Regions from separate parts of the Homo sapiens genome. Here all the other regions are linked to region 1. Evidence: promoter capture Hi-C in 16 types of primary human blood cells and fetal thymus (Javierre and others, 2016). All regions are on one chromosome and are shown on one strand. Each heading gives the region's core, a stretch centred on a gene start or on the middle of the fragment in contact. The rest is flanking DNA. Distances are from core to core; before and after follow the strand shown.

Region 1 (4,157 bases), core at 1,006-3,505:
TGACCACCTGCCTCGGCTTCCCAAAGTGCCGGGATTACAGGCGTGAGCCACCATGCCCAGCCCGGTGTTCTTTCTTATTATCCCAGTTTTTGAATGAGAAAACTGAAGCCTGGAAGGGTTAATTACCTTAGCCAAGGTCACACAACTAGCAGCAGAACTGAGACTTAAATCCATGTCTCTTTGACTTGGATTTTAACAAGTATATCATGATGGACTGCAGCATATAAAAATACTTGCATTATGTCGTTTTGATTGGTCCCCACAACAAGATCATGAGCTAGGACAGATATCATTATACTCCAATATGACGAACAAGGTCAAAAATACAAATATAAAGCACTAAGAACAATGAGCACTCATGTGCTCAATAAAAATACATTGTTATTGCCAAAAAAATAATCTGTCAAACTGGCCTCATAAAAGCAAAGTCACTGGCATCGTTTAGGCCTGACCCAAAAAGCAATTAATGCAAATGTACCATCCTTTGACTAACAGTAGAGGAGGGGAAAAAGGTCAAAATCATGTAAGTTAACACAAGAAAAATAAGTTTGGGGGAGGTGGGAGAAATCCTTTTTAAAAAAATCTAATCTCCCTTTCCTTAAAATTTACCATTAGAATTAATATATTTGTATTTAACAGATTCCAAAGAGTTACCAGTTTGATTGGTTTGGTATGAGGCAGAAGATAGTGCAGGAACTTCCGAAGGAAGAAGAAAAAGTCCATCCAGAATGCCATCAATTTCAGCCTGCAGATTTGGCTCCACATTAGACCGAAGCTTAGATAAGAACTCTACTGCACCAACGTCAACCAAATGTTGGACTGCTGGGGGATACTAAAATAAGAAGAGGATGATCTTGAGAATAACTGTATCAAAATCTCTATAACTTACAGCAATCAAAACATAAAATTATTTTTGGTATATCAGATGTTCCTTTTCTGAAAAACAAATCCTTCATGGCTCTGCCCCGAAGTAAGGCACTTCCATGAGGAGCACATACACCTATAGAGACATACATCCAACACTTGATAACATTTATGAAAGATGAGCCAACACACTGAACGCTAGAAATGCACATTATCAATCCCTACTCTTATTTTTTTAATGGGTTACTTTTTTCCACTGACACTCACCTTATGGTCCCAGCCCCAACCGGTCAACAGGATGTCAAAGTAGTTTAAGATTCCTCTACCATTGTACAGTGATTTAGTTTTGAAAGGTTAAACTTACACTTTGATATCTGACCCCGATAACTAACTACTCTTGAGGTAGGCATAAGAATACCAATCTAAAAGCATATGGGCAAGCAACTTAACATTGGTATTTATGAATCACGGTTATGTAACATTATTTTTAAAGTGCTCCCTTTCATACTGACATATCTAGTTTTTAAGATGTAAATGTCAGAAAACAAAAACAGAATACAAATATTAACCTCCAAAGATAACTCAAAAACACAGAACATACCAAAACTCAAAAGAAGTTCTGTGTTACTTCTGAGCACAGCAGAGACCATGTGGGATTCAGTATCACAAATAAAAGATGAACCATATACCCAGATTAATTAAAATTAAACATCTCTGGTTGATTAAAAAAACTTTTAACCCCAATTATTTAACTTTCAATAAACGCTACAATTAAATGACTAAGAAACAAGTCACTCGTCTGATTATTTTCTTTATTTCAAAATGACCCTACCTTAACCAATCTGCTTAACAGGTTCAGAACCTCTTCCTTCATCGGAACGGACGGGAAATTGAACCATTCCAGCAAATGAAGAAAAAGTTGCCTCTCCTGAATGAGATCAGCGTAGCAGATTAAGTTGTGCTCAATCTTGCAGAGAATACTCTTGAGAGCGCGCTCCCTGATCTCGGCCAGCTGATGACCTGTCAACGAACGGCACAAAACTATTTTATTTCCCGACTGCAAAGAGACTACGTTATTTATGCTGTGGGCAGGAGCGGCGTGAAGACGGAATAAACCAGTTTTTTTCAGAAGCAGGCCACTGGTGCCTTCGGGACGCGAACCGCGAAGTTTACACAAAGTCCGAGATGGGTCCCCGGGGGCTATCCTGACAAAGCGGGGGTGAAAGAGGGAGCGGTCGCGGAGCGGCCGGCCGCGGAAACGTGACACGACCATTCTCAGCAAGTGGCCAGAGCGCGGGGGGTGCCTTGGGCGAGGGGCAAGCTGACAGTTACCGAGTTTCCTGATGAGCCCTGCCAGGACCATCTCGTCCCGTCAATCTGCAGCCGCCGGAGAATTAAACTGCCGCGCCACTGCGTCCAGCCACAATTAATGTACCCCCGGAAACACGTCCTGTGGGACGGTGAGTTCCGCAACGCCTGCGCTCACCAGGAGTAGGAGTCATTACGTGAGCCCTTCGCGGCCCCAGCGTCGCCAGGAGAGCTTCCAGCCTCTCTAGAATCACTACTGCGCACTTCCTGGACAGCAGTCTCCGTCGCAAGAAGCGGAGGGAAAAAAAAAAGCAACAAGCAGGGATAGAACCAGCGTTGGCCGCCGCGCACGTCGGGAGTTGTAGTTCTGGCTAGGCCGTGCGTCCTGCACCGATCTCCGGGCCCGCCGCGGCGCCCGCTGGCCTGGGGTTCCGGCTTACAGCGCGGGAATTCGGGAACCCAGCGCGGGCTGCAGAGGCCCCAGCAGGAGCCCCGCCTCCCGGCTCGTCGACGGATTCGTTCTTGGCCCTGCCAATCTGATTCTCAGCTCCCAGAACTTCACGATTTAGAATGTAGACTTTTGCTTTGTGACAGTTCTCCCCATCCCCGACTACTAAATGACGAACCCTCTTTAACTGTGAAATGTACCTGCAAAGTCAAGCAGTGTCTTTGGATACCCAAGTTCAGATATGAACAAGCAAGCTACAAAAGCGGGGTGGGCGGGTATGAGTGAGCAGAAGAGAGAAACCGGGCTGCAAAAAAGGAAAATAAAGGCGGGACGTGGGGGTATGATTTGCTGAATGGTACCAAAGTTGATTTTTTGCACCGTGCACAGTGATCGAGCTGAGCAAATTATTTTTTTTTTAATTATAAGCAGCGGTAAGAACAACAACAAAATTACATTTGGAAAATGATTTGCATTTTCTCGGTCTGATCATTTCACGTTCCCTGGGAAAGGGATGTCAAGGCAGGTAAAGTGGGCCCTCGGTATCCCTAGGTAATTGGTTCCAGGACCCCCGCAGATACCCAAATCCACCCATGCTTAAGTCTCTTTTATAAAATGGTGTAGTATTTGCATATAACCTACACACATCCTCCTATATGCTTTAAATCATCTCTAGATTGCTTACAATACCTAATACACTGTAAATGCTATGTAAATAGTTGTTACACTGTACTTTTATTCATATTATTTTTTAATTGTTGTATTGTTATTTTCAACTGTGGGGTTTTTTCCCGAATATTTTCCATCCCGTGTGTTGAATTCTCTGTGTGCAACCAGTGGACAGCAAAGGCCTACTGTATTCCCATTCCTATTTTGCCAAAGAGGAAACTTAGAATCACAAAAGTACCCCCACACAAAGTCACATTAACTAGTAAGTGACAGATTGAGGAGCTGACCTGATGTTTCTTTGTTCTATTTAGAGTGCCTTGCTGCCTCCTCATGTGTGTCAATAGGAGAGTGATGATATTTGAGTTGGATCTTAAAGAGTAAGTAGGAGTTTGCCACACAAAGAAGTTGGGTAAGGAAATTCCTGCAGGAGAAACCTGTATTTGCAAAGGCAAGAATCCAGACGGAGTGTGTCAAATTCGGGAAAAGAACAAAATTCAAGGTGGCCATATTATCTCTGGGAAGAAGAGAGGAAGGGCAAGATTGCTGCTAGCATGCTGGATATTCTCCATTCCACCTTCTAGTGGTTCCTCCCAGCTCTTCCAGCTCTGCATCAACTGACCTGAACAGGCAAAAAGACTGCACTATCCAGGCTGCCTGGCCCTCTGGCTTCCAGTTGGTTGCCGCCGATAGGAGGCATCAGCAGGAAATTGGAAAGTAGGAGGAAAGAGATACGGATATTAAACCAAGATTCCACTAGCCCATGCCTAAGCCTGCCTGGCCAAGATTGTAACAGTGGCTGAATTCCTTGACCCAAAGACCACATGTCCTGATGGATAGCATACCACAGTGGGCACTGCAGAACCAGTTACAC
Region 2 (4,157 bases), core at 660-3,159, 100 kb after region 1:
GCAGTGTATAAGGTTTCTGGTTTCTCTGCATCCCTCCCTTTGTCATGATATTGTCATGATAGTGGTTGTGCAGTGGTATCTTTTTGTGGCTTTAATTTACATTTTGAATGACTAATACTATTAAGCACCTTTTCGTGTGCTTATTAGCCATTTGTGTGTTGTCTTTGGTCAAAGGTTTGTTCACATCTTTTGCTCATTTAAAAAATTAGGTTTTATTTATATCTTGGTATCATCTCTTGTCAGTTACGATACACAGATATTCTAGCCTGTGGCTTAGAAGATATGATACACAGATATTTTCTTCTAGCCTGTGGCTTATCTTTCTTTTAATGGTTTGTTTTGAAACACAAACACTTTTAAATTTTAGTTATTAAATTTTAATGATGTTTAACTTAGCAGAGTTTTTCTCTTATATATTGTGCTTTTGGTATTGTGTCCAGGAACTCTTTGTCCAAACTAGAGTCACAAAGTTTTTTTAAAGAAGTTTTATAGTTTCATGGCCGAGCGCGGTGGCTCACGCCTGTAATCCCAGCACTTTGGGATGCCGAGGTGGGCGGATCTGAAGGTCAGGAGTTCGAGACCAGTCTGGCCAACATGGTGAAACCCAGTCTCTACTAAGAAAATACAAAAATTTGCCGGGCATGGTGGCATGCACCTGTAATCCCAGCTATTGGGGAGGCCGACGCAGGAGAATTGTTTGAAGCCGGGAGGTGGGAGGTTGCAGTGAGCCGAGATCGCGCCACTGCACTCCAACCTGAGCAACAGAGCAAGACGCCGTCTCAAAAAGAAAAAAAAAAAAGTTTTATAGTTTTAGTTCATACATTTAGGTATATGACCCATTTTGACTTAATTCTTACCTATGGTGTGAAGTAAGGGTTTACATTTTTGTTTTTAGTTATTCATTTGTCCCAGCACCATTTGTCAAGAAGACTTTCCTCATTGACTCGTCTTGGGACGTTTCTTGAAAATCAGTCGACTATAAATGTAAGGATTTATTTCCAGACTCCTTTATTCTGTGATGTGTATGCCAGTCTCTGTGTCAGCAGCACACTGTCTTGATTCCTATAGTTTTATAAGCACTTTCGAAATTGGATAGTGTAACTTTGTTCTTTTTCAAAATTGCATTTCAATATAAATTTTAGGAATATTGTATCAATTAATATAAAAAAGAGCTTACTAAGCTTTTGATAGGGATTGTTTGAATCTATAGATCAATTTTGGAAGAATTGCCATATTAATAATATTGAATCTTCCAGTTCAAAAACATGGAATCTCTAATTATTTAGAATCTCTATATTCTCTTAGCAGTGTTTTGTAGTTTTGACTGTATGAATCTTGTACTACATGTGTTAAATTTATTCCTCAGTCATTTTATATTTTGTGAACAGAATTGTTTTCTTAATTCACTTTTGGTGTGCTAGTCGTTTTATTGTTGCTAGGTTTGTAGGCTTGTAGGGTGGGTGTGTGGGGGTGTGTGTGTGTGTTGTGTGAGTTCCTTGGGTTTTTCTACGTATAAGATTTTGTCAGCTGGCCAGGCGTGGGGGCTTATGCCTATAATCTCAGCACTTTGGGAGGCCAAGGCTGGAGGATCGCTTGAGCCTAGGAGTTTAAGACCAGCCTGGGAAACATAGGGAGACCCTGTCTCTATTAAAAGTTAGCTAAGTGTGGTGGCATGCATCTGTAGTCCAAGCTCCTTGGAAGGCTGAGGCAAGAAGATTGGTTGAGCTCAGGAGGTCGAGGCTGCAGTGAGCTGTGATCATGCCACTGCACCCCAGCCTGGTGACAGAGTGACATCCTGTCACAAAAAAGCAGCCGAAGTGGGTGGATCACGAGGTCAGGAGATCAAGACCATCCTGGCCAACATGGTGAAACCCTGTCTCTACTAAGAATACAAAAAATTAGCTGGGTGTGGTGGCGCACGCTACTGGGGAGGCTACTGGGGAGGCTACTGGGAGCTGAGGCAGGAGAATCTCTTGAACCTGGGAGGCGGAGATTGCAGTGAGCTGAGATCGTGCCATTGCACTCCAGCCTGGTGACAGAGACTCCATCTCAAAAAAAAAAAAAAAAAAAAAAGAAAGAAAGCCAAAAACTAAGATTGTGTCAATTATGAATAAAGATGGTTTTATTTCTTCCTTTCCAATTTGTATGCATTTTTTTTCTTGTTCCACTGGCTCAAACCTTCAGTACAGTGTTGAGTAGAGGGGGTGAGCGCAAATGTCCTTGTCTTGCCCCCAGTCTTAGTGGCAAAGCATTCAGCCCTTCAGCATTAAGTATGATGTTAGCTGTAGGTTTTTCATAGTTGCCCTTAATTAGTTTGAGCAAGTTTCCTTCTGTTCTTAGCTTATAAAAAGTTTTTATCAATAGGTGTTGTCAATGCCTTTCTGCAACTATTAAGATGATCATGTGTGTTTTTTTCCATCTTTATTAGTATGCTGTAGTGCATCAATTGGTTATTGATGTTAAACCAACCTGGATAAATCTCATTTGGTCAAGGTATATAATGCTTTTTATATGTTGCTGAATTCAGTTTGCTGATGTTTTGTTAAGAAGTTTTGGCCAAGCATGGTGGCTTACGCCTGTAATCCCAACACTTTGGGAGGTCTAGGCAGGAGGACTCTTTGAGCCCAGGAGTTCTAGACAAGCTTGGGCAACATAGGGAGACCCCAGCTTTACAAAAAATAAAAAAATTAGCCGGGTGTGCTGGTGCGTGCCTGTAGTCCCAGCTATTTGGGAGGCCATGATGGGAGGATCACTTGAGCCTGAAGATGGAGGTTGCAGCGAGCCATGATTGCATCACTGCACTCCAGCCTGGGCAACAGAATGAGACCCTGTCTCTAAAAATAATAAAGAATTTTTCTATCAGTGTTCATGATGGATATTGATTTGTAGTTTTCTTGTGATGTCTTTGCCTTTGTTATCAGGGTAATACTGGCCTCACAGAATGGCTTGTGAAGTGTTCCTTTCTTCTCTGTTAGCTGAAAGAGTTTGTGAAGATTTGTATTAATTGTTTAAATCTTTAGTGGAATTTACCAGTGAAGCCACCCGAGCCTGACCTTTCTTTATAGGAAGGTTTTTAATTATCAATTCATTCCTTACTCGTTATAGGTCTATTTAGATTCTCTGTTTCCTTTTGAGTCAGATTTGGTAATTTGTGTCTTTCTAGGATTTTGTCCATTTTCTCTTAAGTTTTCTAATTTGTTGGTAAAAGGTGATTTATAGTATTCCCATATAGTCCTTTAAATTTCCATAGGCTTGATAGTGATAGCCTTTCTTTCATTTCTGATTTTGCTAATTTATGTCTTCTCTCTTAATTTCTTTGTCAGTCTAGCCTAAAGCTTTGTCTGTTTTTTATCTTTTCAAATGACTCACTTTTGGTTTTATTTGTTTTTTCCCTCTTGTTTTTCTGTTTTCTATTTTATTAATTTCTACTCTAACATTTACTATTTTATTCTACTTTCATTGGGTTTAGTTATTTTCTAATTTCTTAAGGGTGAAAGCTTAGGTTATTGATTTGAGATATAGGCATTTAAAGCTGTACATTTTTTCCTAAGCACTACTTTAGCCACATCCCATAAATTTGTGTATGTTTTGTTTTTATTCTGTTCAAAATATTTACTAACTTTTCCTTGTGATTTTTTAGTCTTTGGCCCATTGGTTATTTAGAAGTGTTTTGTTTCATTTAGAAATATTCGGTGTTTTTCCAGATTTATTTCTGTTGTAGATATATCATTAATTTACTTCCATTGTGGTCAGAGAACATACTTGGTATAATTATAGTATCAGTCTTTTTAAATTTATTGAGGCTTTTGGAGACAGTCTTGCTCTGTCACCCAGACTGGAGTGCAGTGGCGTAATCATGGACAAGATGCAGCCTCAGCACTCCTGGGCTCAAGTGATCCTCCTGCCCCAGCTTCCCATGTAGCTGGGGCTACAGGCATGCGCCACCATACCTGGCTAATTTTTTTTTTAATTTTTTGCAACAACTAGGTCTCACTATGCTGTCCAGGCTGGTTTTGAATTCCTGGGCTCATGTGATCCTCCTGCCTTTTCCTCCCAAAATTCTGGGATTACAGGTGTGAGTCACCACACCTGGCTATTGAGGCTTGTTGTGGTCTATCCGGAAAAATGAAGCCTTGAAAAAATATTAATTAGGTCAA
Region 3 (4,157 bases), core at 505-3,004, 81 kb before region 1:
TGTAACCCCATTTTATAACCACCCTCATATCCCCTAAATCTAAGTGTACTATCCTCTTTTCAATTCCTCTTGAAGACACAAGACACTCTTTCCTAACTCAGGGCCTATCCCTTTGCCTGGCATTTAAAAAAAAAATTAATTTGTATAATATTTGTTGAATATGGCATTTTAGTCTAGAGGAGAAATAATATATTCTGCAAGTGGTTGTGAGTCAACTGACCATCCATTTACGGATTCAAAGTATCAAATTTCTGTCACATAACATGCACCAAACTATATTCCATTTATTTGTTTTATTTTTAACTGACAAATAATAATTGTATGTATCTTTAGGATACAATGTGGTGTTCTGACACATGTATACATTGTGGAATGATCCAATCAGGCTAATTAACATACCAATCACCTCAAATACTTATTTCTCTGTGGTGAGAACATTTAACATCTATTCTTTTAGCTATTTTGAAACATATATTATTATTAACTATAGTCACTATGCTGTAAGAGATCACCAGAACTCATTCCTCTTGTCTAACTGGAATTTTGTAACCTCTCAGCAACGTCTCCCTTTTCCCTACCCATATCCACCTGCCACTTGCCTCTGGTAACAATTCTACTCTACTTCTTTGAATTCGACTTTTTTAGATTCCATATATAAGACAGATCATGTGGTATTTGTTTCTCTGTGTGCCTGGTATCTTTTCGGCTTCCAATCCCATAGACTTTTAACATCCTTCTACCTGTTATGCCTTGGCTTAAGCTTCATTCTCTGAACCACTTTCTCTCTACTGAAGAGGGATAGGGTGCTCCTCTAATGCAGTTTCCTAATAGTCTGCTTGGAAGCATTTCTACTTTTGATTATACTTTTAGCTGTCTTAATTCCAAGTTCCATGAGAGCAGGACCCTATCAGTTTTGCCCACTGCTATATTTCCTACAAGAGTGACACCTAGTAGGTGATCAATAAATGTTTGTTGAATGATGGAAAAGCAGTAGGAAAAGAAAGGCAGTAGCCCCTTTCTTCCTATTCACCCCATGCCACAGCACCACACCCATATAAGGTATCATGTCCAGATCTCAGGGAGAGTCCTAAGAAACACAATACCCTTGTAAAATAGCATGAACAAATGAGAAGTCTGGACACTGTGGCTTTTAAAGTCTATCTAAAAAAAAAAACAAATCATTTAAAGCAGGGTGGGGGGAATAGAGAAGAAATTATAGTTATGTTTAAATGAAGAGCTGTCACATGTGAAGACATTATTTATTCTGTGAGTTTAAAGGACAGAATAACAGGTAGAAATGATCAGGTACAGTCTAAAAGAACAAAAAACTTACGAATAATCACAGCGCAAAAACAGAATGAATATCCTTCAAAGGAGGTGTTCACGCTGAGGCTGCATGGCCAACTGTATACTATGACTTATGCGATATGTGAGGGATATAAAAAGGAATGTAATAAACCCAAGGCACATGAGAAAACAAATATTTAAACAACTGTAGAAGTAATGCAGGAAAGCCACATGACAATCAGGGTAACTAGAATTCCACATACATCACAGAGTAAGAAGACCCTGGAGCTCAAGGAAGAGTAGATATTCACAAGGCAGCCAAGGAGTTAACTATGTAAAAGCAAGGATGTATAAAACAGAAGTGTATGCCCTAAAATATCAAGCAGTTTCATAAAACCCCAATATTTGCACTTCATAGAAACACAGCATATGTTAGAGAGAGAGGAGGAAACTGTAGCTGAAAAGGTAAGCAAGAGCTAGATCAAAAAGAACTTTCTACAGCATGCTAAGGGGTTGGAATTCTATTAATATCTAGCACACCATGGAAGAGAACCCACAGGTGACATGTATTTCAGAAGGATCATTCAGGAAGCAACATAAATGAGTGGCATAAGGTTAAAAGCAGAAAAACCAATTCGCTAGTCAGTCTACAGTCTGGTGAAAAATGGAGAAAAACAGTAGCAATAGGACTTCCAGTAGGAAAGGAGTAGAGAGGCATTAAACATGCAAACTCAACAGAAACTAGTTGAAAGAAGACTCTAGATACCTCTGACAACTTGTAATCCTACTAAACCATGACTATCATCTGTTTTCTTAAAATAAGTTTCCAAAATGATATTAGATTATAATTGTATGCTTGTGTGTTAGCATACACATATAAAAACATACACATAAATTAATGTTGGGCTGTTAAAATAATCATCTTGGAAAGTTATGTTTAGAAGCCACAGTACCGTAAGTAAAAAGATTTTAGAAACCATGTTTTTTGTCAAACTGAAATATACTTTTGTTAATAGTGATAAATAGTCATGGTTTAGGGTGGTGTTCATTTCGGTATACATGTAAAAATCATTTTTACCCTTCTCTGGATAGTTGAGTTTGCTAATATCATTTTTTAGTAAAAAATTAAATATAACTTCAAAATATAATAAGACTTCCTTACATCTGCTGTTTAAATGACCTGAGAGGACAATTTCAAAATATCTGAGCAAAGCCAGAATTATTCTAACATACACACTCACTCCTAAAAGGACCTCTTTTGCGGAACATTCATTTGGATATATCATATATTTGAAAAATTAGCCTCAAAGTATATTTACTGACATGGAAAATGTGTAAAAAATAACATTATTTTTAAAATACAATAAAAAACCATTCACACAGGTATGAACATGCTTCTCTATATTTTGTTTTGTCTAGAATGATATAATTTGAAATAGCTGTATTTTAAAAATATTAAACTAAGCTTATAAAAATGTTCTCAATATCTCAATACTTTATACAGCCATGATTTATGGGAATCTTCTATCTCCAAGCACCCTTTAAGCTGTTGGTTCATCTTAGATAATCAGTCAAAAAGATAATGTTCCTTTCTATCATTAAACTGAATGAAAGCAAAACTAAAGTTTCCCAAAGCCTCATTAGTACATACATTGCTGGAAGTAAAGTTTTTAAAAAGTTTTCATGAAAAAAGGTGGATTCTGTGATATATATTTTTGATACATTCCTTAGTGAAACATAATACAGCAGAAATACATGAATATTTATAAATTAGGCAGTAGTGTCTGTGTTGCCATGATCAAACACAGGCCTAAAAACCAAATACAAGATGAATATTATATATGCATGTGTGTATATATTAAACATATACACAGTCTATACTCTCCACTTACACTAGTCCTGAGGAAACTAACCATAAAAAATGTGATGCTCACATACAGTTACTGCTATTGGGCAATTTGAAATACTCTAAAGGCTTCCACTGACCCACAGTTTGAGAGTCTTTCCTGTAATGTGGTATTGCATACTATTTCTATGGTTTTAATTCACAAGAGAAAGAAAACTTAGTGCAATGAATTCAATCAGCTTTTATGTTAAAATTTCTTTTGACAAATAGGGACATATTACATTTATTTAAAGTGAAGGATTTATGCATTCTTCAACTGGCGAGACTGTTTAAATGCGGGAGTGTGCTGATAAATATGTAACTGAGAGTGCTGACTTATTGTGTTTGTCAATTTCCATGGTGTAAATATACTACTGTAGACAATGTGGAGCTACCATGTAACATGAAGTTGTGAAGAGATGCACAGTGGTACTCCATTGTAGTTATTTCCATAAAATACATACCCCTGTAGTGCATATGTATGCATAACCTCAAGAACAAAGATAACAGTAAAATGTTGCCACATAATTAGAAAGTGATGTTTGCATATTCATTACCTTTTGTCTTCATATAATTTATTTAATTGTAAGTTTATATAATTAAGAATGGCTGTGTTTAACAATCACCTTACAAAAATCCTGAAAATTCAACCATCAGCTCTCTCACAAGGCTGCATTAGTGGGCACCAGCACACCACTGGAAAGCCTAATCAGATAAACTAATTTTTAAAGCTAAACTAATAAAGGAATTCATATTTTGGAAACTCATTTAACCTAGCAGCTTAAAAACTGCACATTTTATGTTAAATAATAAAGTTATACATTTTATACTAAAGTCACATGAAGAATAAAATGAAAACCTGCTTGCAGTGGTTGCTTATCAGTCTTGTTGCAAATGCAACCATCTGCTACAAGTTAAGCATGTTAAATTGACAAGCTAGAGCCTTCTCAATTAACTGCTATAAAGGACCGCCACATGGCAATCA

What was found. The method cuts DNA at HindIII sites, captures the fragments that hold promoters and counts their contacts. A CHiCAGO score of 5 or more calls a contact.
Region 2: a fragment that was not itself captured here is called in contact with the fragment with the promoter of RTTN in region 1 in 3 of 17 cell types (monocytes, M0 macrophages and M1 macrophages); the score reaches 13.0 in monocytes.
Region 3: a fragment that was not itself captured here is called in contact with the fragment with the promoter of RTTN in region 1 in 1 of 17 cell types (total B cells); the score reaches 5.2 in total B cells.

Annotation. Positions count from the first base shown.
Region 1 is chr18:70,203,432-70,207,588 of GRCh38, forward strand. RTTN (rotatin) reads right to left here and starts at 2,256. Exons shown (of 49, transcript NM_173630.4): 1 at 2,197-2,256; 2 at 1,697-1,884; 3 at 655-832. The coding sequence starts at 2,227. LOC105372180 (a long non-coding RNA gene) reads left to right here and starts at 2,358. Exons shown (of 3, transcript XR_935599.3): 1 at 2,358-3,143; 2 at 3,598-3,663. RefSeq lists enhancers at 1,956-2,085, 2,296-2,405, 2,324-2,953, 2,416-2,655. The HindIII fragment of the contact is 5,232 bases long and covers 774-4,157 here.
Region 2 is chr18:70,304,427-70,308,583 of GRCh38, forward strand. The region is part of intron 1 of SOCS6 (suppressor of cytokine signaling 6); the gene reads left to right. Among named protein-coding and RNA genes, the nearest start is that of SOCS6, 17 kb to the left of the region's middle. The HindIII fragment of the contact is 1,461 bases long and covers 1,180-2,640 here.
Region 3 is chr18:70,122,912-70,127,068 of GRCh38, forward strand. The region is part of intron 25 of RTTN (rotatin); the gene reads right to left. Among named protein-coding and RNA genes, the nearest start is that of RTTN, 81 kb to the right of the region's middle. The HindIII fragment of the contact is 1,992 bases long and covers 759-2,750 here.